Linked DNA regions of Homo sapiens: all the other regions are linked to region 1. The links are contacts of gene promoters, found by promoter capture Hi-C in blood cells and fetal thymus (Javierre and others, 2016). All regions are on one chromosome and are shown on one strand. The core of a region is centred on a gene start or on the middle of the fragment in contact, and the rest is flanking DNA. Distances in the headings are between cores, read along the strand shown.

Region 1 (3,935 bases), core at 1,142-3,641:
CGGGCTGCCCCACAGGCTCCTGGTCCCCCTAGAACCCAACATGGGCTGCACAGAGGCTGAGTCCACTGGCAGCAAATCTAGTTAGCAGCTCGGTCCTGAGCCCACCCTGTCCACTGGCTCCTCTGAGGTGAGCCATACATAGTCCCCGGCTTTTTGCTAATTTTGAAAAAGGGAGAGACTGCGCAGGTGCTCACTGCAAGGCCTCCTTCCTTTTTTAATTACAGGAATCATTATATACATAGACAGTGTGGCATAGTAGAAGGAACAAAAACAACAAAGAAACAAAGATTTTCAAAAACCATCACAATTTCTTTGTCGAGTCAAGAGTGGCTAACAACACGGGCACATGTCAGCTACACGTGCAGAAAGTTGCCTTCAGAACACAAGTGAGAGTGCAGGCACAATCTGCCCAGTTGCTGAATGATAATCACTATGTGTGTGTGTTTTTTTTTTAAATTATACATGTAAGAGATGTGGCAGAGCAGACAGAGCAAAGACAACATTTAACATTTCAAATCAGTCTTTATTGCAGCTCTCCTCCTCACCGGTTGAGTGGTGTTGGGCAAGTCATTAAACCTCTGTGAGCCTCAGTTTCCTCACCTGCCAAGTTAGGGGTAATAACAGTCCTTACCCTGAAGGGCTGTCACAGAATTAAAGAACAGAAAGTGCACAGAATGCTCAGCCTTGGACCTGGCATGTCACATGGGCTCTTTGAGTTAGTTGTTACCCTGCCCTCCATTCTCATCCAATCTCTGGTTTTTTAAAAAGGGTAGGATGTGTAAAATCACAATCATTTGCTGCAAAGCTTGATGATTATAATCACAGCCAGCAGAGTCTCCGTGGGGCTATAGCCACAGGAATCCTGGTGGTGCCTTCACTCAAGTTCTTTCCTTCCCAGCCTTCTAGACAGGCACGCTCAACTGTGCATCTTGTTTTGTGCCAACTGTTTCTCTAAATTAGTATATGGGCTTCTGTCAGCATGTTTTACAGAGAGAAACCACATTTCTCAGCAGTGGACTTTGCCTTCCTTTTGTATAGATTCCCCATTTCTTCAGGTCTTCCTGATACCCACAGTTGTTTACCCTGAGAACCACAAAAGTTTTTAATATGGAAAGTTTGTTCCTTTAAAATTGCTAGGAGAATGTTTATTGAGACAAGCCTGGCACATAAACGAGATCTTCATGTCACTGAAATTTGGCAGGGGGCAGAGGTGGGGACACTGGCGAGAAGGAACCCAGGCAGAAGTGGAGAGACAGAAAGGTGTGACCGAGAAATATGGACGTTTTTCTTCCTGTGCAACGAAGCCCTCACCCTGTGTTTCACGTGGCATTGGCGGGGACTTTCTTCCTTTGTAATGTGCTCACTGGGGTTGTCACGTCACATAGCCACGTGGAGACAGCCACTGAAGTTCAAAGACAAGATGGGTGTAAATGTGATTCATTTCATTAAAACAACTGGATATACAATATTTGATGTCTGCGGTAACTCTAACTTCTCCTCATTTCCCTTTAGGGGAGTGAGAGTTTTTAGGTACCTGCTGTCTGATCAGTTGCAAGTGCCAAGTCTGGTGGAGGAGGAAGGAATGCAGCCATAACATCAGCAAAGCTGCATGAAGTCTTTCCCTCTGCTGCTGCCCCTGCCCTGTACCTGGTTGTTCATGTCCCACCCACCCACTCTTCCAGGTTCAGGTCAAGCCCCACTCCCTGACAAATATCTCTCCTAATCATGGGAGTGGCCACTGACACACACTGAAAGGGGATGGGCAGGTGCCAGTACTGGTGCCGTCATTTACAAGTCCAGTAACTGGGAAAGTTATCTGGCTTCTCTTTGCCTCTCAGTAAACACCAACTAGGAAAAGGAGTGCATGAGATGACGTCCATACAGCCCCTGGCGGTGGGCTGGCAGCCTGGCACATTCTCCGTGAATGAGAATGTGTATTTCCCATGATCCTATCCACCCCACCCTGATGGCCATTCCTTCTTTTCTGCAAGGCTGTGTCCCATGGTGGCCCTTTATTGCCTTGGGGGTTGAACTTCTACCTCTATCTCTTAACAGGGCAGCTCTTCTACCTTCTTTGCCTTTTCTTGGCAACAGAATTTGGCTCTTATGCATTTCTCTCTAATTGGTTAATCACATTGTATTGACTGCAACATTAGAACCAATAGTTCAGGCCTTCCCAATTGTCCTGACCATGTCACTGGCATACTGACACACGCCCATGAACAAAGGCTTCATCACACAAGGAAGACACACTATGACCCGCTGCGGTTTTCTTCCACTTCAGTTGTAGCCCTGCATGCTTTCTGGGGAGCACACTCTAGCCACCGAGATGAAGGCACGGGGAGGCCCGACCGTAGGTCGAACACGTCAGTCAGTGGCTGATCCTTCCCATGGTCTCTGGATACACCAGTGAAGGCAGGAGGTGAAGTCTCCCAGATCACCTGGGAACAGCCATGGACACTTGTCTGGGGCTGCATGAGGTTTGTTCTGGGCTCTGATGGAATATTGCCCTCATGTATGCTTTTTAACATACCGAGTCAAGGATTATGCAGGATCTGTTGAAATTCCAATAAGTCAGTCAAGAAAATTAAGCGCACTTAACCTCATCATTTACCCTTTGCAATTTTTGGTAACTATATTTGAAAAAGTTATTTAGACACCTTCTCATTTCAAGAGCCTCTGTGCTCACCTAAGCCTTGAGTTCCTCTTTGTCAGATTCTCTGATTTCTCTGTAGAATGTGAAGGGTTCATCTTTCACTTTTTTTCCCAGCCAAGAGTACACGGATGGTGTATTATTTGAACCCTTGCCCAGCAGAAAATACTTTTTATTCTTTCCATACATGGATCACCATTTGATAAGTGTAGAATTCTTGCATCATGGTCTTACCACCCCAAAATTCTACCAATGTTCTTCATTGCCTTCTTGCTTCTTAATATCGCAGAAAAGTCCAAGAACAGAATGTTTTTTTTCCTTCCTACCAGACAGTGTCTGAGACTCACCTTTGACACAAATGTAACTGAAGGGGAGAAGCTGCCCCTGGGCAAGCCGGTCAGCTGAAACCACTCAAGAGCCCCCAGTGCAACACCAGGTAGGACTTTTTTTTTTTTTGTCTGCTTTGTTTTTCTCTCTCTGGATATTTCAGATCACTTTAATTTTTTTTTTCAAAACCTAAAATGTCAGCAATTATATTTTGACTTATTTGATAGATCTTTCAGTATAGGGCACTTATTTTTTTGGATCTCTCTTTGCTTATTGTGTCCATTTGAATTGCTCTGAGGTCTTTAAGATAACCAATCACTATTATTTTAAATCTTTTATCTCTGTCTTACATAACTATCATCCTCTCCCACAGTATTTTTTAAATCTTCTTCTCATTCTCGGTGTATTTGGGGAGCGGTTTTCAAGTTTGTTCCCTGTATTGGAACAACTATGATTTCTGTATGGTTAATCTTTCCTTTGACTGCTTGAAGTGGAGAAGGAACTTCTGCAATTGTATTTCAGGTTCTTTATATTCTTTCCTTACCTCCCCCAGCTTCCATTTTATTTTTGACTGTGGCTCAGCCAATTTACAATCCCATTTTTTATCTCATTTCAGAGTTCATGTTTTCTTGCATTGGGAGTAGAACACAGTTGCTGTCTAAAATGAGCTTCTGTTTCTTGTAATAATTTTTCCCCAAAGCATGCTCTTTTGCTGCATCTTAAGTGTGTGCTCTCCTCCTCCTCTGTTGCAGAAGCCAGCTTCCCTTTCATTCGTGTTCAGACAGGTCTGTTCAGGCTTCACCTCTGTTTACTCTCACTGCAGCCCAGTGAGATTGACCAGACTGGAATTACAGCTAAATCCATGGTCACTGCCACGACATATTGCATCTGGAGAGGGGTCTTAACTTCCCTGTAACCAGCATTCATGGCTAAACAGTTGAGAGACGCCCTTGAA
Region 2 (3,691 bases), core at 813-3,312, 330 kb after region 1:
GTGGTCTCTCCTTGTGGCTTTATTTTTACTCATGCATAGGTCTTCACACACTACACACATGTAATTTATTGTATAATGTCTGAATGTTCCAAACTTTAGAGTTTAAATACATATACTCATGCAAGTTTATTTTCTAATGTCTTATTTTGACGTAGAAAATTTTATTCTTGATTGACAAAGAAAGCATTTAATTACCTGACAGGGAGAAGAGGGAAAAAGGAAATAGAGAAAGGGAAATATGATGATGTCATAACATCATTTTTATTAATTGTCTTCAACCACATTTTGATTTTACAGATTTGGCCTCTGAGTGATTTTGGATTTCTATGTGACAGCCCTAACGGCCACAGATTTTCACATAATTAGCAAGCATTTACTCTTGTGACTTGATTATTACCTCCTATTCAAGTAAATGTATTACTGCCATTGAAACCATGTACATACCAATAAGCTATTTGCTGTTCAGTTTTAGTTCTTTTTAATTGCTAAATGTAAAGAATAAGCAACATATATTCTACAAGCTATATTAGTTCAAAATATATAAATAAAATGTAATCCAAAATAAGTCATTTAACTTTATGATAGATATAAAAATATTTTGGGGGGAAAACCTGGATGACTGCTTCACTTTTGAATTTTTGGTTTTATACATATAGTGAAAGTAATCTTCTGTTTTTGAATATCTCTTATGCTTTGGCTACATTTACAAGTCAGAGTAGTAATTATTCTTACTTACAAATCCAATCTGACACTGCTAAGAGTTGGACTTAAGAAAAAGCTGCTAAATTACATGCTTAGTACACACATTTGAAGTAAAAAGTTTCAGTGATTCTGTAAAGGATCCCTTAAAATTATTTAAATGAGTTCTTACTTGAACTGTACACAGAATATTAAATATATAGAAAAATAAATCTTTAAGGGGTCTACAGTCTGCTATGGCCAATAATAATACATTATAAAAGTCCATTTGAGGCCAGGCGCGATGGCTCACACCTGCAATCCCAGCACTTTGGGAGGCCAAGGCAGGTGGATCACCTGAGGTCGGGAGTTCGAAACCAGACTAACCACCATGGGGAAACCCCATCTCTACTAAAAATACAAAAAAAATTAGCCAGGCGTAGTGGCACATGCCTGTAATCCCAGCTACTCAAGAGGCTGAGGCAGGAGAATTGCTTGAACCCGGGAGACAGAGGCTGCGGTGAGCCAAGATCACGCCATTGCACTCCAGCCTGGGCAACAGGAGCAAAACTCCATCTAAAAAAAAAAAAAAAAAAAAAAGTCCATTTGATTATATTAGCAATGAAATAGTTCCTTATTTATAAATATAGGCATTAATACTATATCTTAATACTCTGAAAAAGAAAAGTAGTATGCCAATTTTCAGTTATTTTTATAAAGCTCCCATGTCCTATATTACATTTAAATTGAAGATGGCAGTATTCATGAGCTTTGGAAATACAGGATAAGATTGGAGTCAAGTCTTCTGACTCTAAAGCTATTTTTCTTCCTAGAGTTGCCACTTCACTTTCTTTATGAACTTTGAAATAACCTCATGAATATCCATATTCAAGCTTCATTATGGGAGAACTGGCTTCACACGTATCCACAAAGATTTCTAATTTAAGTTTAATGACCATAGAATTGGAGATAGGTGTATAACAGGCCTATAACTTTAGCAGCAAGAAATATCATCTGTTAGATCAGAAACTTAGTAACTATAAAGGAATGCAATGATACTGTTACCCACTAAAAAAGGAGATGCTCATAGTAGGAAAAAGAAAATTCTCATTTTGTATCAAGGAGAAAATGAAATAATAAAGTCCTTTGGAATGCACTAAATATAATTTGTAATTCAAGTTCTTTTTGTGGCAACCTGTAAATACAAACTATCAATACATGTAAATAACTAAATTAGTTTTCTATTAATCTGAGGTGGACTTTGCTTGACAATCATATTTTCATTGAAAATGATAGGGCTAACAACAATAGAATGTATTCCCTTGAATTGTCAAAGCTCAGATGGCCTCTCCTCACCATGTCCAAATACACAGGACAAGGATTCCAAGTAGTGAAGAATTTTACCAATAATGAAGAAGTTCTGTAATTAGTGAACATGTATCACAAGAAAATAGGTTAACTTCCTCTGCTTCATCCTTGGAAACACTGTGTTTTCTACCACATTGGCTACTTGGGGAAAAAGAGTCATCATCTTTTTTCCAAGGCACTTTTTCAAGGTATAGTTGAGCATCTACTGGTTCCATATTTCTTAGATCATCTTCATGCCACTGAGGATCATACTCTTTTTTTCTCTTCATTCCCTAGAATTTTCCACGCCTGATCAATTTCAATGAATTTCTGTATACAGTCCTCCACTATTCCTGCTGGCACATCTGTACTTTGTTAATCTGAATGCTGCTTTAATGTAAGTTTTTTATACTTTTGTTTTAGGTTTGACACATTTGGGTGTGCCCCCAAAAATGCTATACCAATTATTTTTTGGCATCAGCTCAAATGCCATTATCCATTGAATAAGAACTGGGCCTTCTCAGATGAGCAAGCTTCATCTAGCAGTCACCAGTGCCCACTCTTTGCCTGCCACTGGCCAGAACTCGAAACCAGCTTCTCCTCTCTGTGGTTTTAATTTGCATTTTCCTAGTGATTAATCCTGTTGAACATCTTTTTATGTGTTTGTTAGCCACTCACATATTTATTGTGTGTGAAACAATTGCTCAAATACCTTTTGCCCATCTTTTTTACCCTCTACCCACAACAATTTGTTTTTGATGTCACAATTTACATATTTTTATATTGTATATTCTTTAACAACTCATCGTAGCTTTATTTATTTTTGATGACTTTTTGACTTTTAACTTTCATAATAGAAATTTATATGATTTATACACCAGCGGTATTATAGTTTTCTGGATCTGGCTACACATTTACCTCTACCAGTGAGTTTTATACTTTCATATATATTCATGATGGTAATTATTGTCCTTTTATTCCCACTTTAAGAACTCTCTTAAGCATTTCTTGTAGGGCAGTACTAGTGGTGATGAATTCCTTCAGCTTTTCCTTATTTGGGAAAGACTTTACTTCTCCTTCATTTCTGAAGGACAGCTTTGCTGGGTATAGTATTCTTGACTGACAGTCTTTTTTTTCCTTTAGCACTTTGAATATATCATCCCATTCTATACTGGCCTGTAAGGTTTCTGCTAAGAAATATACTGATAGTTTAATGTAGGTTCTCTTATATGTGACTTGGTGTTTTCCTCTTGCTGCTTTTAAAATTCTCCCTTTGTCTTTAACTTTTGACAATTTGATTTTGTGTCTTGGAGAGGACCTCTTTGGGCTATATCTATCTGGGAACCTTTGAGCATCATGAATTTGGATGTTCATATCGCTCTGAAAACCTAAGAAGTTTTCAGTAATTATTTTATTAAATAAGTTTTGTGTCCCTTTCTCTGTCTCTTCTCCTGTAACTCCCATAATGCAAATACTTGTTTGCTTAATGGTATCTCATAAGTCCCATAGACTGTCTTCACTGTTTTTCATTCTTTTTTCTTCTCTGACTCAGTGATTTCAAAAGACCTATCTTCAGGTTCACAGATTATTTCTTCTGCTTGATCAAATCTGCTGTTGAAGCTCTCTATTGCAGGGATCCCCAACCCCTGGGCCACAGACCAGTACC
Region 3 (3,958 bases), core at 322-2,821, 310 kb after region 1:
TCTCCACCAGCCACACTGGGCAGCCACAGTATGGGATCAGCAGGTTCCTCCCCCTGCCCCAGACCATGCTGACCTCTTCCCAATGACAAATATACACATTCATCCTCTCTGTCTTGGAAGCAATGGAAAAGACAGTCTCTACCCCACCTTCTCCATTTGCATGAATTTCCCAAGAAAACCCAAGACACATCAACAGCTAATGAGGAGTGAAAACTGAAGCCCCACTTGCTAGAATCTCTTTATTTTTAAGAGGCTGAATTTATAAAGTCAATCTGAAATGGGCCCCTTCTGGTATGACAGAAAGCTCCATGTAGATGGCAGGCTTCAGCAGTCCCCTCTGCAGGCTCTGGCCCTCAGAGGCAGGGGAAAGTGAGGGCCCGTTGCCATGGCCCAAGGAAGGGTCACCACTTTCCCAACCTCACGTGAGACTATCCACCAGCATGGCCTGGCAAAATCAGCAAGGTGCCAGGACCCGTTGCAATTCTCAACAGATAATTTCCTGCTGGAGGGCACGTGCCCGCTGTACTCCCCCAGTGTCTGTCCCTGTCACCAGGGGAAGTACCCCCAAAAAGATAGCTCCCATAGATGAGGGCTTATCTCCAAGTCTTTATCCTCAATAGAACAGCTTTATTTCTACTTGGGTTCTAGCATTTTCTGGAGGGCAGATTCTTTTTTCCCAATTCAATTCCATGAGGATTTATTAAGCATCACTGTGAATGTGTGGCTTTCATAAAAGAAACCAGAGCAAGCTTCCTCTGACCCCTGACTATCAAAGTCAAAGCCACAGGGAGGAAGCAACTACTTCATACCCTTACTTAACAACCCACACCCTGCTCGCGTCGAAAAATCATTCAGGCAGCAGCAAGCAGCACCCCCAGAGACAGGAGGAAAAGATCCAGAAGCCAGGGGCTGCCAGAAGCTTCCAGAGATGGCAGGAGAGCATCTGTACTGAGGGCTGAGCCTCACCAGACAGACTCCAGGGAAAGAAGGAAGGACAGACAGACAGGGACAGTCATTGTGGCAATGAAGAGTACAGTGTGAATCACAGACCTGAGTCCAAATCCCAACTCTGCCACTTATCAGCCAGGTGACCTTGGTGGGGTGGGTGGGGAGCACTGTCTCTGTCAGCCTCCATTTGCTCTTCTGTCAAACATGATGGAGCCGTTGTGACTATTACATGCGATAATGCATGATGATTACGTGCAATAATGTGTGACCATTACATGCGATAATGCGTGACCATTACATGCAATAATGCATGACTATTACAAGTGATAATGCGTGTAACGTGCTTGGCACAGCATCTGCAAAGATACAGGGCTCCATACATGGGAGATGCTTTCCCTGTTAGGTAAGTGAGGAGATCTCAGGACCGTCCTAAAAGGCTCCTTGAGAATCTGGAGCTCTCAAGCGTCTCACAGCAATGGCCAAAGTCCCCTCTGGGCTGGAAGGGCTGACAGCTACAAAATACAACGAGACCTCGGGAGGCCGGGCAGTGGTTCTGTGAGACCTGGTGGGTTTCCCTCAAAGGAGACAGACCCACGGCTCTCAGGTACACCACCTTTGCTTTCTATTCAGAGAAGCAAATTTATTCCTGAAGCCACAGTATGAACTGCTCTGACCTGTCGCTTATAGGATGACAGTGACAAGCCAATGCCTTGAGGGACAGCATCTCAATACAGCCAGAAGGAGAGGCAGTCAATGGTGTCCTGGAGGTCAGGGCCCACTACAACCCAGGCCTCTGGACTCCAGCCCTCTCACCAGCCCCTCCTTTCTGAGGGCAGAGTATGACATTTAAAACAGCTAAGAGGAAGGAAGGTGCCCTCACCATGAGACTTGGTATGATGTCACTTAGGCTCACCAGTGTCCACACAGGGCCTGAGGAATCTGTGCTAGATTCCACTTGCTTCAGCCAGTCAGGCCATTTGGAGCTGGGAAGCCAGGAGGAAACAAAACTAGCCAGAATCAGCATCTGCCTAAAAACCAGGCACTCCCCCTCTGCTATAAGGACCATTTGCATCAAAAACCACCCCGAGGAAACTCCACCTGCTCAGAAATGAGTACTTACTACACACCGAGAACTGTGCTTACCTCAGCTAACCCTCACAACTGCTCTACGAGGTTGGTGTTAGTGTTTTGATTTTATTCATAAAGAAATGGAGGCTCAGAAGAGTTAGGTACTTCCCCAGGGAGTAGTGCTAGTCTGTTTTCACTGTATAACCAAAAGCTTCAAAAACCCCAGTGCCATGGCCGGGCGCGGTGGCTCACGCCTGTAATCCCAGCACTTTGGGAGGCCAAGGCGGGAGGATCACGAGGTCAGGAGATCGAGACCATCCTGTCTAACACGGTGAAACCTCGTCTCTACTAAAAATACAAAAAATTAGCCAGGTGCAGTGGCGGGCACCTGTAGTCCCAGCTACTCGGGAGGCTGAGGCAGGAGAATGGCGTGAACCCGGGAGGTGGAGCTTCCAGTGAGCCGAGATAGCGCCACTGTAGTCAGGCCTGGGTGAAAGAGTGAGACTCCATCTCAAAAAAAAAAAAAAAAAAAAACAACCCAGTGCCTTACACAACATTCATTCTTCCAGGTCTGCAGGTTGGCTACAATTTAGCTAATCTAGCCTGGGCTCGGTTGTACCAGACTCAACTCCAGACTTCTTGTCAGATTCACATTTGCCCGCGGTCTTCATTCAGGCCCCTGCTGCAGGATCAACAGCCAGGTGGGATGAGCTTCCTCAACCACACATCGAGTAGCATCAGAGAGCAAGCCACACCAAACCACCACACCAAAACATCACACTGAACCACCACACTGAACCACCACACCAAACCATCACACCAAACCACCACACCAAACCATCACACAAAGTCACCACACCAAACCACCACACCAAACCATCACACAAAGCCACCACACCAAACCATCACACCAAGCCACACACCAAACCACCACACCAAAACATCACACCAAAACATCACACCAGACCACCACACCAAACCATCACACCAAAGCACCACACCAAACCACCACACCAAACACCACACCAAACCATCAGACCAAAGCACCACACCAAACCATCACACCAAACACCACACCAAACCATCACACCAAGCCACCACACCAAACCACCACACCAAAAGTTTCTGCTCACGACAGGTCTGCTCATCCTCCAACAGGCAAGGTGAGTGTGCCTGATGGGGCAGGTGCTCTGCCTATGCCAAGGGCACAGATGTATCACTGTATTCCGGGATGGAGTGCAGCCCCAGGAATGATACCCAAACCTACTGCAAACAGCCCCCAAGGGGCAGAGCCAAAAGAGGTGAACCCAGGCAGCTCATTCTCATTACTGCTCTGCCATCCCAACCACCATGTGACCTCTCAGGGCCTCGGGTTTCTCATCCACTCAGGGGGTAACACATGACCTACCTCACTGGGCTTTCTAAGGCTTAAATGGAGTGTGAAGATGAGTCTTTGAAGGGACCCAGGTATACATTTAGAAAGAAGTTATTCCCGGCCTTCATTTGGAAGTTCCATAGGACTCCAAATCTTCCATGCACAGATAATGTCGAATGACAAAAAGGCAGAACTGCCCCCACGGACTTGAGAAGGACGGGCCTCTCTCTGCTCATTCAGACGCAGGCGGAAAATTAGGTCCATTTTGTGTAGATAAGAAATGACAGTGTCTTTATCATAATTTTGACAACTGTCCAGGGTTGACCAGGTTGACTGCCCCAGGGGGACATTCCATATTGAATAGAAAAACCAGGTGAGAGCCAGGCATGGTGGCTCATGCATGTAAACCCAGCATTTTGGGAGGCCAAGGCAGGCAGATCACTTGAGGTCAGGAGTTCAACAGCAGCCTTGCCAACATAGTGAAACCCCGTCTCTACTAAAAATACAAAAATTAGCCAGGCATGGTGGCAGGTGCCTGTAATCCCAGCTATTCCAGTGGCTGGGGCA
Region 4 (3,643 bases), core at 48-2,547, 470 kb after region 1:
GGACACTGCTGCCCTCTCCTTTTCCCAGAATGGGCCCTTCAAGACCCATTCGCCTTGAACTTTTTTGGACACTGCTCTGTCCTGCCACTGTGCCCTGGGGTCCAAAGAGATGCTACAGGAGAGATGAAGGGCAGGTCAAGGAAGCTGCCAAGCTGTGAGCTTCTAAGGGCCCAGGAAAGCCCCACACAGAGATAGCCAAACACAGAAATCCAATGTCAGCGCATGCTCCTACGCATCAGGGAAGGACTCCTCATCCTGTGGCCCCATGTTTCCAGGACACTCTTCCTTAAATAGCAAACTCTCCTGAGCCCATGCCTTCATTCCTTACTTTCAGTTATCTGTCTTGTGCCTGGCTTGTCATCCTATCTAGCCGGACAGAGAAGAAACCAATTATGGCAGTGCAGGGAGGCCCATCCTAGGACCGAGGTGTACATGAGGGCCATCAGCACACCAAGGAGGGCCATTCAAATGGTCTGAGGACAGCAAAAGTGTTTAAATAATGTAGGCTCAAGAAAGCAAGACAGCAAAATGGTTAAGAAGGTGGGCTCTGAGCTCACCCAGGGCTGGATTCAAACCCCAGCTCTATCTTTTACTAGCTTAACCTCTCTGGACTACAGCTATCCCACCTGTAAAGTGGGTGGGTAAGCAGTTTCTAAAATGATCCCCAATGATCTCTGCCTGCTGTATTCACACCCCGATGGAAACCCCTCCCCTTGAGTTGAGTGTGGTTGAATCTAGCCACTGGCTTCTAATAAATAGAGTATGGTAGAAATGATAGAATGTCGCTCTTTTATTTTCTTTTTTTTTTTACTGGTTTTTTTTTTTTTTTTTTAGTATTTATTGATCATTCTTGGGTGTTTCTCGGAGAGGGGGATGTGGCAGGGTCATAGGATAATAGTGGAGAGAAGGTCAGCAGATAAACACGTGAACAAAAGTCTCTGGTTTTCCTAGGCAAAGGTCCCTGCGGCCTTCTGCAGTGTTTGTGTCCCTGGGTACTTGAGATTAGGGAGTGGTATGACTCTTAACGAGCATGCTGCCTTCAAGCATCTGTTTAACAAAGCACATCTTGCACCGCCCTTAATCCATTTAACCCTGAGTTGACACAGCACATGTTTCAGAGAGCCCGGGGTGGGGGTAAGGTTATAGATTAACAGCATCCCAAGGCAGAAGAATTTTTCTTAGTACAGAACAAAATGGAGTCTCCTATGTCTACTTCTTTCTACACAGACACAGTAACAATCTGATCTCTCTTTCTTTTCCCCACATTTCCCCCTTTTCTTTTCGACATAACCGCCATCGTCATCATGGCCGGTTCTCGATGGTCGCTGTCTCCTCGGAGCTGTTGGGTACACCTGTAGAAAGTCTGTCACTTCGCACTTGGAAGATTGCACAGCGGCCAGGCAGAGGCGCTCCTCACATCCCAGATGGGGTGGCGGCCAGGCAGAGGCAATCCTCACATCCCAGACGGGGCGGCCGGGCAGAGGTGCTCCCCACTTCCCAGACGGGGCGGCTGGGCAGAGGCGCTCCTCACTTCCCAGACAGGGCAGCCGGGCAGAGGCGCTCCCCACTTCCCAGCGGGGCGGCTGGGCAGAGATGCTTCTCACTTCCCAGACAGGGCAGCTGCTGGGCAGAGGCACTCCTCACTTCCCAGACGGGGCGGCTGGGCAGAGGCGCTCCTCACTTCTCAGACGGGGCGGCCGGGCAGAGGCGCTCCTGACTTCCCAGACGATGGGCAGCCAGTCAGAGGTGCTCCTCACTTCCTAGACGGGGCGGCCAGGCAGAGACGCTCCTCACATCCCAGATGGGGTGGCGGCCGGGCAGAGGCGCTCTCCACCTCCCAGACGGGGTGGCCGGGCAGAGGCGCTCCTCACTTCCCAGACAGGGCGGCGGCCAGGCAGAGACGCTCCTCACCTCCCAGACGGGGTGGCGGCTGGGCAGAGGCGCTCCTCACTTCCCAGACGGGGCAGCCGGGCAGAGGCGCTCCTCACATCCCAGACGATGGGCGGCCGGGCAGAGGCACTCCTCACATCCCAGATGACGGGTGGCCAGGCAGAGACGCTCCTCACTTCCTAGACGGGGTGGCAGCTGGGCAGAGGCTGTAATCTTAGCACTTTGGGAGCCTAAGGCAGGCGGCTGGGAGGTGGAGGTTGTAGGGAGCCGAGATCATGCCACTGCACTCCAGCCTAGGCAACATTTGTGCATTGAGTGAGCGAGACTCCGTCTGCAATCCCAGCACCTTGGGAGGCAGAGGCGGGCAGATCACTCGAGGTCAGGAGCTGGAGACCAGCCCAGCCAACACGGCGAAACCCCATCTCCACCAAAAATACAAAAACCAGTCAGGCGTGGTGGCGCATGACTGCAATCCCAGGCACTCGGCAGGCCCAGGCAGGAGAATCACGGGAGCCCGAGGCAGGGAGGTGCAGCGAGCCGAGATCACGGCAGTACAGTCCAGCCTCGGCAACAGAGGGAGACCACAGAAAGAAAGAAAGGGAGAGAGGGAGGGAGGGAGGGAGGGAGGAAGGGAGGGAGGAAGGGAGGAAGAAAGGAAGGAAGGAAGACTCTTTTATTTTCTTTTGAGACAGGGTCTTGCTCTGTTGCCCAGGCTGGAGTGCAGTGACATGATCATAGCTCACTGCAGCCTCCAGCTTCTGGGTTCAAACCATCCTCCTGCCTCAGCCTCCTGAGTAGCAGGCACTACAGACATAGGCCACCACACCCAGGTAATTTTTTATTTTTATGTTTTTGGAGAGACAGGGTCTCACAAGGTTGTTCAGGCCTCAAGCAATCCTCCCACCACGGCCTCCCAAAGCACTGGGATTGCAGGCTTGCATCACCGTGCCTGGCCAGGATGTCACTTCTGAAACTGAGGGCTGTGACTTTCACTTTGCATTCTTTCACTCTCATTCTCTTTCTCAGCATTTGCTCTGGGGGAAACAAGCTGCCATGCTGTGAGCAGCCCACTGGAGAAGCCCACGTGACAAACTGAACTGAAGCTTCCAGCCAACAGCCAGGGAACCTGAGTTGGGAAGTGGGCCCTCCACGAGTCAAGCTCTTGGATGACACCTTGACAGCAGTCTCATGAGAGACCCTGAGCCAGAACCACCCAGCTAAGCTTCTCCTGGATTCCTGACCCACAGAAACTGAGAGATAATACATGTGTGTTTTCTTGAGCTGTTTTTTGTTACACGGCAGTAGATAACTAATACGGTATAAATAGTAATGGTACCTGACTGCAGGCTCTCAGTAAGGAGCGAATAGGCAAGCGCAGGTAGAGCTCCTAGCACAGAGCACGGCACATAGTAAGTTCTTACGAATATTAATTACAATAGAGAATATCTGCTTCCCGCAAGTGCCTCTAAAGGAGCGAGTCTGGTGGTATCATTGTGGGCACATAGCAAGTTGTATGTAGAGAGTCGAGGGTGCATGTATCATTTTCCATAGCGGCTGTAACAAATTACCAAAAATGTACTGGCTTAAAATGACACAAATGTATTACTTTACAGCTGGGGAGGTCAGAAATCCAAAATGGATCATACAGAGCTAAAATCAAGGTGTCGGCAGAGATGTGTTCCTTCTGGAGTCTCTAACAGAAAATGCGTTCCTGGCCCTGTCCAGCTTCCACAGGCTGCCCACATTCCTTGGG
Region 5 (3,578 bases), core at 405-2,904, 280 kb after region 1:
TGAGATCAGACGTCACCAAAACAAATGAGCCCAGGCCCATCAGGCATAGTGCATTAGATGAATTCTGAAAAATTCTGAGATGTGGAGAAATCTGATGAAATATGTCATAAGCAGAAAGGGCAAGAAATGTTTCCAAGTTTCATTCACTCTTATGAAGTGACATCTAGAAAGAAAAGGAATCAGATAAAAAGGAAAAAGCAAATTATGATATTAAAAATTCATTCCCATTTAGCAAATTTGCTATTAGCATCACAATTCAGGATATTTTAATAATTCCAGCCTCACAGAGGTAGCATAATTGGATGCTTCAATGATGGGATTTAGGGAACACCAGAAAAATCCCTTCACCAAAATCACTTCTTCAACAGCCTGAGCTCACCCACTACAGCTGGACATGCCAGGTTCTTCCCTGGCTTCTCTTCTAAAATCCACATTCCCCAAGGGGTCAGCTACGGAGACCCAGCTCTTCCTGGTGAGCAGGTGGGGCAGATGAGGGCCCCAAATCCTGAGATGGGGGGGCAAGAGGGAGCATGAGGTGGACAGTCAGGCTCCAGGCTGGCCACCCTGCACCCCGGGGGCTCATCCTCCCTGAGCACTTCTTCACAGCCTGACCAAAAGTGCTCAGGAGGGCAACATGCTCTGTGTTCTTGTCTAAATCATTGAAAACAGAAGAAGTTCACAGGAAAATGACATCCTTCAGCCAGGGAGGTGTCTTGCCAGGTTCCGGTCAGCAAGGGCTGAAGTGTGCCCTGCCCCCAGCAGCTCGGCTTGGCAGCACCAGCCTGTGGTGTGGCTGAGGACCCACCTGCCTCCTTCAGCCAGGCTCCTTGGGAGCATCTGGGACTAGCAAAGGATGCTGCTATTACGTTACCTCAAATATCCACCCTCACACACCAACTGAGAACCAAGCGAGTCCAGAGGAGATAAGCCCTGGTGGAGTCAATAATTCTGAGGCTGCGAGTGCCTCTGCCTTCTACAGCCCAGCTCAGGGAAAGTGAGTTTATTCCCAGGACCACAGATCCACCCAGCCCATGCCCTAGGCTAACCTCCCCGCACTGCAACCAGAGGGACTTCTGAAGTGCTAGGCTGAGCCTCTCTGCTCTCTAGCATAAGAGTCATTAAGAGTTTCCATGAACCTCAAGATAAAGACCCAAATCCTAGCCTGGGGTCACTAGATGCATGAGATGTGAGTCCTGCCCCTGTCTCAGGCCTCCCTCACCACATTCCCTCAAGACCCCTGTGTTTGCTACACGCTCCGCTCCCAAGATGCCCACACTGCTGTAGGACCCATGTCCTTCCCTCCGACAACACACCCTTTTCCGTCGTCAACATAGCAGTAAATCAGCTGAGAGAGAGGGATATTTGACATAAATTGTGGATGTGCCTTTCTGAGCATGAGGTGGCTATCATAAAATACATAGAAACTCCACAGTGTTTTTAATATGAATTGAACTGGTAAAAGTACTGCCAGGCTGGGCTAAAAGAAACTGAGTCTGTTCAAATTGCAAAAGGACCTCTGGATCCTTAATTTTCTATGGCCAGAAAACAGGCTGAGAAAACTACTAAGCTGTCTACATCAACCATGTCTTCAGAAGTAGCCATGGAGTGTGACACAAAGGAAAGCGTGGGCAAGGCCAAGAGCCCGGGGAGTGGAACCAAGAACTGTGGACACACTGGACTGGGGCATCATTTCCAGGGAGTAGAACAGTGGTCTAATCAAGGAATACTTTTCACCCCAGAGTTGGGGGCCCCAGCAACATTTCCACCCTGTGGGATTTCAGAATTATTATGGAGTAGTAACTAACCTGTTTCAAACAGGAGAGTTTATTGCTATTATGCTGTCCCTGTCTCATCAGCACATGCTGAGGGTGTGGGAGACAGATTACTTTGCTCTCTCATTCACTGGGTCTCCAGAACAAAAAGTGCTCCATCTGGATTTTTATGTAGATTTTATAAGATCCTGAATGTTAAGCATTAGGCCAGGATGGGATGAGACTTTGAGGGTCTTCAGAGGGAGTGAGTACATTTTGCGTGTAGAAGGATGTGAATAATTTTGATCAGAAGGCAGACTGGTATACTGGTTGTACAAATGGCTCCAATTCCATATCTACACCTTTTGGGTGTGGCTTCACATCTCTACCCATCAGGACCTGGATTCCATCTCCAGATCCTTTGAATCTGGGCTGACTATGAAATTTCTTTGGCAGATAGAATGAGGAAGAGGTGATGTTGTACCAGTTCCAAGCCTAGGCACATCAAGGCTACTATTCTTTTGCTTTCTTGGTTTCCTGCCTGCTCCATGAAAATAAGCCAATACTAGCCTGCTAAGGGGCGAGACCTTGTGAAAGACAGCCGAGGTGCCCCAGCTGATGGCAGACAGCCTCTGGGAGCAGAGTTCCCTTGATGACAGACAGCTGATAACCCAGGAATGAGACAGCCCCACCAAGACCAGAAAAACTGTCCAGATGAGCCCTGCCTAAATTGTCAAACTGCAAACAATCTATGTAAATGCTTGTCATTTAGGCCGCTCAAGTTTGGTATGGTTTGCTACACAGCACTACATAACAGATACACATGCACCATCTCTTTTAATCTTCACAACAACCAAAGAGATAGATGCTGTTATTATCCTTATTTTGTAGGTAAAACTAAAGGTTAGAGCAAGTTTCATGGGTATATAATGTTACAAATGCTTGTTCCTCAGTGCCATAAAGAAATAGCACTTGAACATAAATTTAATTTCCTCAGCAAGGCCATTTTTACTTTCTGCAGAAAGGGTACACTCGCCAGCAGTTTTGCCACAAGAGTACACCGAACAAAGGAGACAGGGTCATTTATAACCTGATGCATCCACTCTACTGCTGTGTCCGGTTTCCATTGGCTGGAATGGGACCTCACATTCTATATTTGTCCTGATTGGCTAGCAACTTAGAACATTTTAAAAGAGGCAAAGGCAGAGGAAAACAAAGGAAGGAGGAAGTAACTTGTGGAATGCTGAGAAAGGTAAAAACATGTTCAAATAAGGAAGAGGAACAGGCTATGACCTAATGCTTGCTTGGACCAGTATAAGCATGCCAGGGCAAATATTTAGGCTAAATTGTGGGGGCTAAGAACGTAAAGTACATTGATTTCTTTATTATGGCTAGCAGATATTTAAGAATGTTACCACAGGTCTTTGAATAAATTTTGCTTCTAAGAGAAGTTACTATTTATTCCTAATTAGATGGGGAGGAAAGCCTTTGAAGAGGAACCTCTACTTTACTTTTTACACTAAGGTCGTACAACTAGCAATGGCTTTTAGTCAGCAGAGCTGTTTGTTAATATCCTGGTTCTCCTTCCAGGCACTTGGTGAGGTTAAAGTTGAGGAGAGAGTCTTGGGATGTGCTTTGGACGATAAAACTCAAGCGGAAGCAATGTGTATTACTTCCAGGAAAAAGACTATTATGAAATGTATTATTTGCAATGTTTGCTTTCTCTTGCTACTGTACTCAGTGGTGCCGTAGATAGTGATGGCTCCTACAGCCCAGGTCTCTCAGTGTGACTTGGAGCACAGCCCCCAGCCACCTCATGATGGGCAT
Region 6 (3,526 bases), core at 634-3,133, 490 kb after region 1:
GCTGGGGTTTGTAAAAATCCCATGGGACCTCCAAGGCTGGAGGGAGAGGAAAGTCTCATTCATTCATTACCCAGATATTCCCTAGCACCTACTACACACCAGGCACTGTTCTACACTCTTGGGAAACATCAAGGAATGAAGTCAGGAACCCTTGCTCTTGTGGAGCTTCTAGGGAGTGCAAAAGGAAGGACTGGGAAAAAGTCCCAAAGGGTGGCTGGAATTTGGCAGACATAGAAGAATGAGGGGTTGTTCTGGGTCAAGAACAGCCCTTGGTGGGTTGCAAACTATGCGAGCCTGTGTTCTTAGACATAGACACAGGAGAGAGGGCTGCTGTTGGTAAGCCTCCCTCAGCCCAGCAACGGCTTCAGACCAGACCCTGAGAACGGTGGCAGAGATCATGAGTGGCTGGGGGTGTCTTTGGGGCCACAGCTCTATCAGTGCCCCCACTCTTGATAGGACAGTTGCCCATGTTTCCCTGCACATGTGAAGCGCCACACAAACATAGCTAGTCCTCTAGCTCCGTCCTTGCACAGACCCTTGCCCTGAGCCTCTCCTTCCCATGGAGGAACTCTAGAGCTACAGGTAGGGAACCACTGCCCCAAAGCTTGGCCAGCAAGAGGAGAAGCCTGGACTTGGTCTCGAGAGCTGTTATCTCAACCTCAGCTCATGGAACCTCGTGAGGATCTAACAGAAGTGGGACCTTTCCCTAAGGTTGGGCCATTCTGCTGAGGCATTCAAGGTTTTAATGATCACTGTCCTGAGAGTCACGGAATCCAGCTCAATGCCTGCCTCCTCCAGGAAGCCCTCCTGGACTTACCCCTCTTGTGAACACCTATCATACTTTCTTATAGCTGGTGTGTTCACATCCTCTCACCTCCTCAACTGTACCATGGAGGTATTTCTATTTTCTTTTTTTGTTTGTTTGTTTGTTTTTGAGATGGAGTCTCACTCTGTCACCCAGGCTGGAGTGCAGTGGTGCGATCTCGGCTCGCTGCAAGCTCCGCCTCCCAGGTTCACGCCATTCTCCTGCCTCAGCCTCCCAAATAGCTGGGACTACAGGCACCCGCCACCACGCCCGGCTGATTTTTTGTATTTTTAGTAGAGACGGGGTTTCACCATGTTAGCCAGGATGGTCTCAATCTCCTGACCTCGTGACCCTCCTGCCTAAGCCTCCCAAAGTGCTGGGATTACAGGTGTGAGCCACCATGCCCAGCTGGTATTTCTATTTTCTAGGAAAATGTGTGTTGTACATTCCCAGCTCTCGACCCACTCTGGTCACTGAGACCCTGGCCTTCTCCTGGAGCTTGACAAAATAACACACCAACCAAAATCTTCCCCCAGAGAATCCCACTGTAGGGCAGAATCAGACACTTCCTCAGTCCCCATCTCCTTCTGCTTTAAGTGTGTGACAGTCACCAAGTTATGCACTGTAGCCTTTTCCTTTTCAACACCAAGGGGCACTTCCTTCTGTACTACAAATAGTCGTTCCCCACTAAGAGTCAGTGGTCCTGGGACTCATAAACTTCAGGTCATTACTAACCAATGTGTGTCTTTCCTCGGGGCTATAATCTTTCCAATAAGCCATGGCTGGGCTGCAGTTCCCTCAAAGATTAATGTGCATGCCAATGCTAATGCATTCACCAATTGTCCTGTCTCAGAAGGCGTCACACATACACACACACACACACACACACACACACACACACACATACACACACAGCTCTAGGGCTGGCTGGTCTCTCATCCTTCCTGCACACCACACCACCTCGGAAGGTGATGTGGCCAGGCTCTTCCCTCCCTCTTCAAAGTCTGGAAACGGACTGTGCAAGCCAACAGATGCTTGTGCTGCACCCAGACTGCCCTTGACTTCAATGCCCTCCCCAAATACCAAATGTCAATTTCCCAAGCTGATGGGGGCACAGAAGTGGGGGCAGGGCTCATCCCCTCACTGAGGAATTTCCTCAGAAAGAATGATCACTCTTGCCATTTCCCTGCTCAGAAATCTGGCCCAGCCTCCTGTGGCTTTTAGGATAAGGACTCACAGCTCAACAGCCCCAGGGGCCTCCGTGAAGGTGAGCTGTACCCCACTGGCCTGGCCTCCCAGCCTCAGCCCCAAGGAAGCCGTTAGCTCCCTCAAGGCACCCAGCTCTTCCCTTCTTGTGGTTTCCCCCACTCCCAGCTCCCCTCCTGGAACTCCCCTCTCCCTGCCGCCTGCACATGGCCAACTACTTCCCAGGTCCAGTGTGAGCATGCCCTCCGCTGCCAAGGCTTCCCTGCTTCCTGAGTAATCCTAGTTTACTTTTCTTCTGTAAGAGGCAATAACACACAGTGCTGGACAGCAGGGGATCTGGAGTCAGACTTCCTGGTTCAAATCCCGGTCTGTTGCTCACCTGCTTGTGGACCGTGGATAAGCTGCTTAATCGCTCTCTACCTGTATCCTCGTCTTAAAGCAAAGCTAATCCATAGAGTTGCTATGAAGATAAAAGGACAATGTCGTCCCCTCTAAATGTTTTGAATTGTGTGGGGCACGCAGCGAATAACCAGTGTCAGCTGTTGTTATCATTACCATCACTTCTAATCTCGCATCACTCTCCTTCTTTTGCCTGCCCAGCCCTTCTCGCACGTGGTGGCTGCGCATCTACTTGGTGGTGATTTGTTGACTGCTGGGATGTCAGCTCCAAGATGAACAGAACCTGAAGCCTGGCATGGTGCCTGGCATGCACAGGTGCTCTGTAATTAACACCTGTTGATTAAAAATCATCATCACTGGCTCTTCTGACTTTAAGCGTCACTGTCCTGGTGGAAGAGGGCTGTAGAGGAGAGAAGTGGTCAGGATAGATGCCGAGTGATGCGCTGAAGCCCCCACCGGGGACACAGATGGACAGGGCACCCTGGGAGCCGCTCTGCGGGCAGCTGGTGAAGCCAGTGCCTAATCAGGCTGCCCAGGCCTGTGGCCCAGCTCTGCCTCTCCTTCCTGTGTGGCCCTGGACAGGTTTTCTAAACTTTCTGACCCTCTGTTTCTCCACTCATAAAACTCCAGTGGGAGGCCAAGGCAGGAGGACTGCTTGAGCCCAGGAGTTTAAGGACTGCTTGGGCAACATAACAAGACCCTGTCTCTTAAAAATAAAAATAAAACACACACACACAAACAAACTCCAGCAGAAAAGCTTTGGTATCTAGTTGAGGCAGCATCCTCTACAGGAAGGGCAGAGAAAGGCCGGCCCCTCTTTCTGCCTGCTTCTGGCATGGCTCCTGGCTGTCCCCAGCATCTGCATTGCCATCTGTAGAGTATGTAAATCCATACAATTAATACTCTTCATAATCTTACCGCAACCATTTTTCTTCACGAATGTGTTCAGTTTCAGGAAACGCGGCATGTCCTGGAGGCACATTTACATTTCATTATCTCTAAAAGCTTAACTACCGTGACTAATGCTGGATTAATAAGCAGCCCCTTCGAACGTCGAACTACTTTAAACACCACCACTTACGCAGTCTCACTGGTGGTGGAAGAGGGTGCTTTCAA

The links. Contacts are between HindIII fragments. The CHiCAGO score rates a contact against its expected background, and 5 or more counts as called.
Region 2: a fragment that was not itself captured here is called in contact with the fragment with the promoter of CTB-3M24.3 in region 1 in 3 of 17 cell types (endothelial precursors, erythroblasts and M1 macrophages); the score reaches 7.9 in endothelial precursors.
Region 3: a fragment that was not itself captured here is called in contact with the fragment with the promoter of CTB-3M24.3 in region 1 in 1 of 17 cell types (endothelial precursors); the score reaches 5.4 in endothelial precursors.
Region 4: a contact is called between a fragment that was not itself captured here and the fragment with the promoter of CTB-3M24.3 in region 1, in 4 of 17 cell types (endothelial precursors, total CD8 T cells, naive CD8 T cells and 1 more). The highest score is 13.2, in endothelial precursors.
Region 5: a contact is called between a fragment that was not itself captured here and the fragment with the promoter of CTB-3M24.3 in region 1, in 1 of 17 cell types (endothelial precursors). The highest score is 5.1, in endothelial precursors.
Region 6: a fragment that was not itself captured here is called in contact with the fragment with the promoter of CTB-3M24.3 in region 1 in 4 of 17 cell types (endothelial precursors, M1 macrophages, M2 macrophages and 1 more); the score reaches 9.6 in endothelial precursors.

Annotation. Positions count from the first base shown.
Region 1 is chr5:133,385,491-133,389,425 of GRCh38, forward strand. CTB-3M24.3 (a long non-coding RNA gene) reads left to right here and starts at 2,392. Exons shown (of 3, transcript XR_948794.4): 1 at 2,392-2,480; 2 at 2,983-3,089. All of the region lies in intron 4 of FSTL4 (follistatin like 4), which reads right to left. The HindIII fragment of the contact is 3,410 bases long and covers 804-3,935 here.
Region 2 is chr5:133,718,417-133,722,107 of GRCh38, forward strand. It overlaps a transcript of FSTL4 not described here and the pseudogene LOC101060035. Among named protein-coding and RNA genes, the nearest start is that of FSTL4, 110 kb to the left of the region's middle. The HindIII fragment of the contact is 987 bases long and covers 1,570-2,556 here.
Region 3 is chr5:133,697,352-133,701,309 of GRCh38, forward strand. It overlaps a transcript of FSTL4 not described here. Among named protein-coding and RNA genes, the nearest start is that of FSTL4, 87 kb to the left of the region's middle. The HindIII fragment of the contact is 1,308 bases long and covers 918-2,225 here.
Region 4 is chr5:133,856,355-133,859,997 of GRCh38, forward strand. No RefSeq gene overlaps it. Among named protein-coding and RNA genes, the nearest start is that of WSPAR, 56 kb to the right of the region's middle. The HindIII fragment of the contact is 3,387 bases long and covers 1-2,991 here.
Region 5 is chr5:133,668,785-133,672,362 of GRCh38, forward strand. It overlaps a transcript of FSTL4 not described here. Among named protein-coding and RNA genes, the nearest start is that of FSTL4, 58 kb to the left of the region's middle. The HindIII fragment of the contact is 7,771 bases long and covers 1-3,578 here.
Region 6 is chr5:133,879,603-133,883,128 of GRCh38, forward strand. No RefSeq gene overlaps it. Among named protein-coding and RNA genes, the nearest start is that of WSPAR, 32 kb to the right of the region's middle. The HindIII fragment of the contact is 2,563 bases long and covers 603-3,165 here.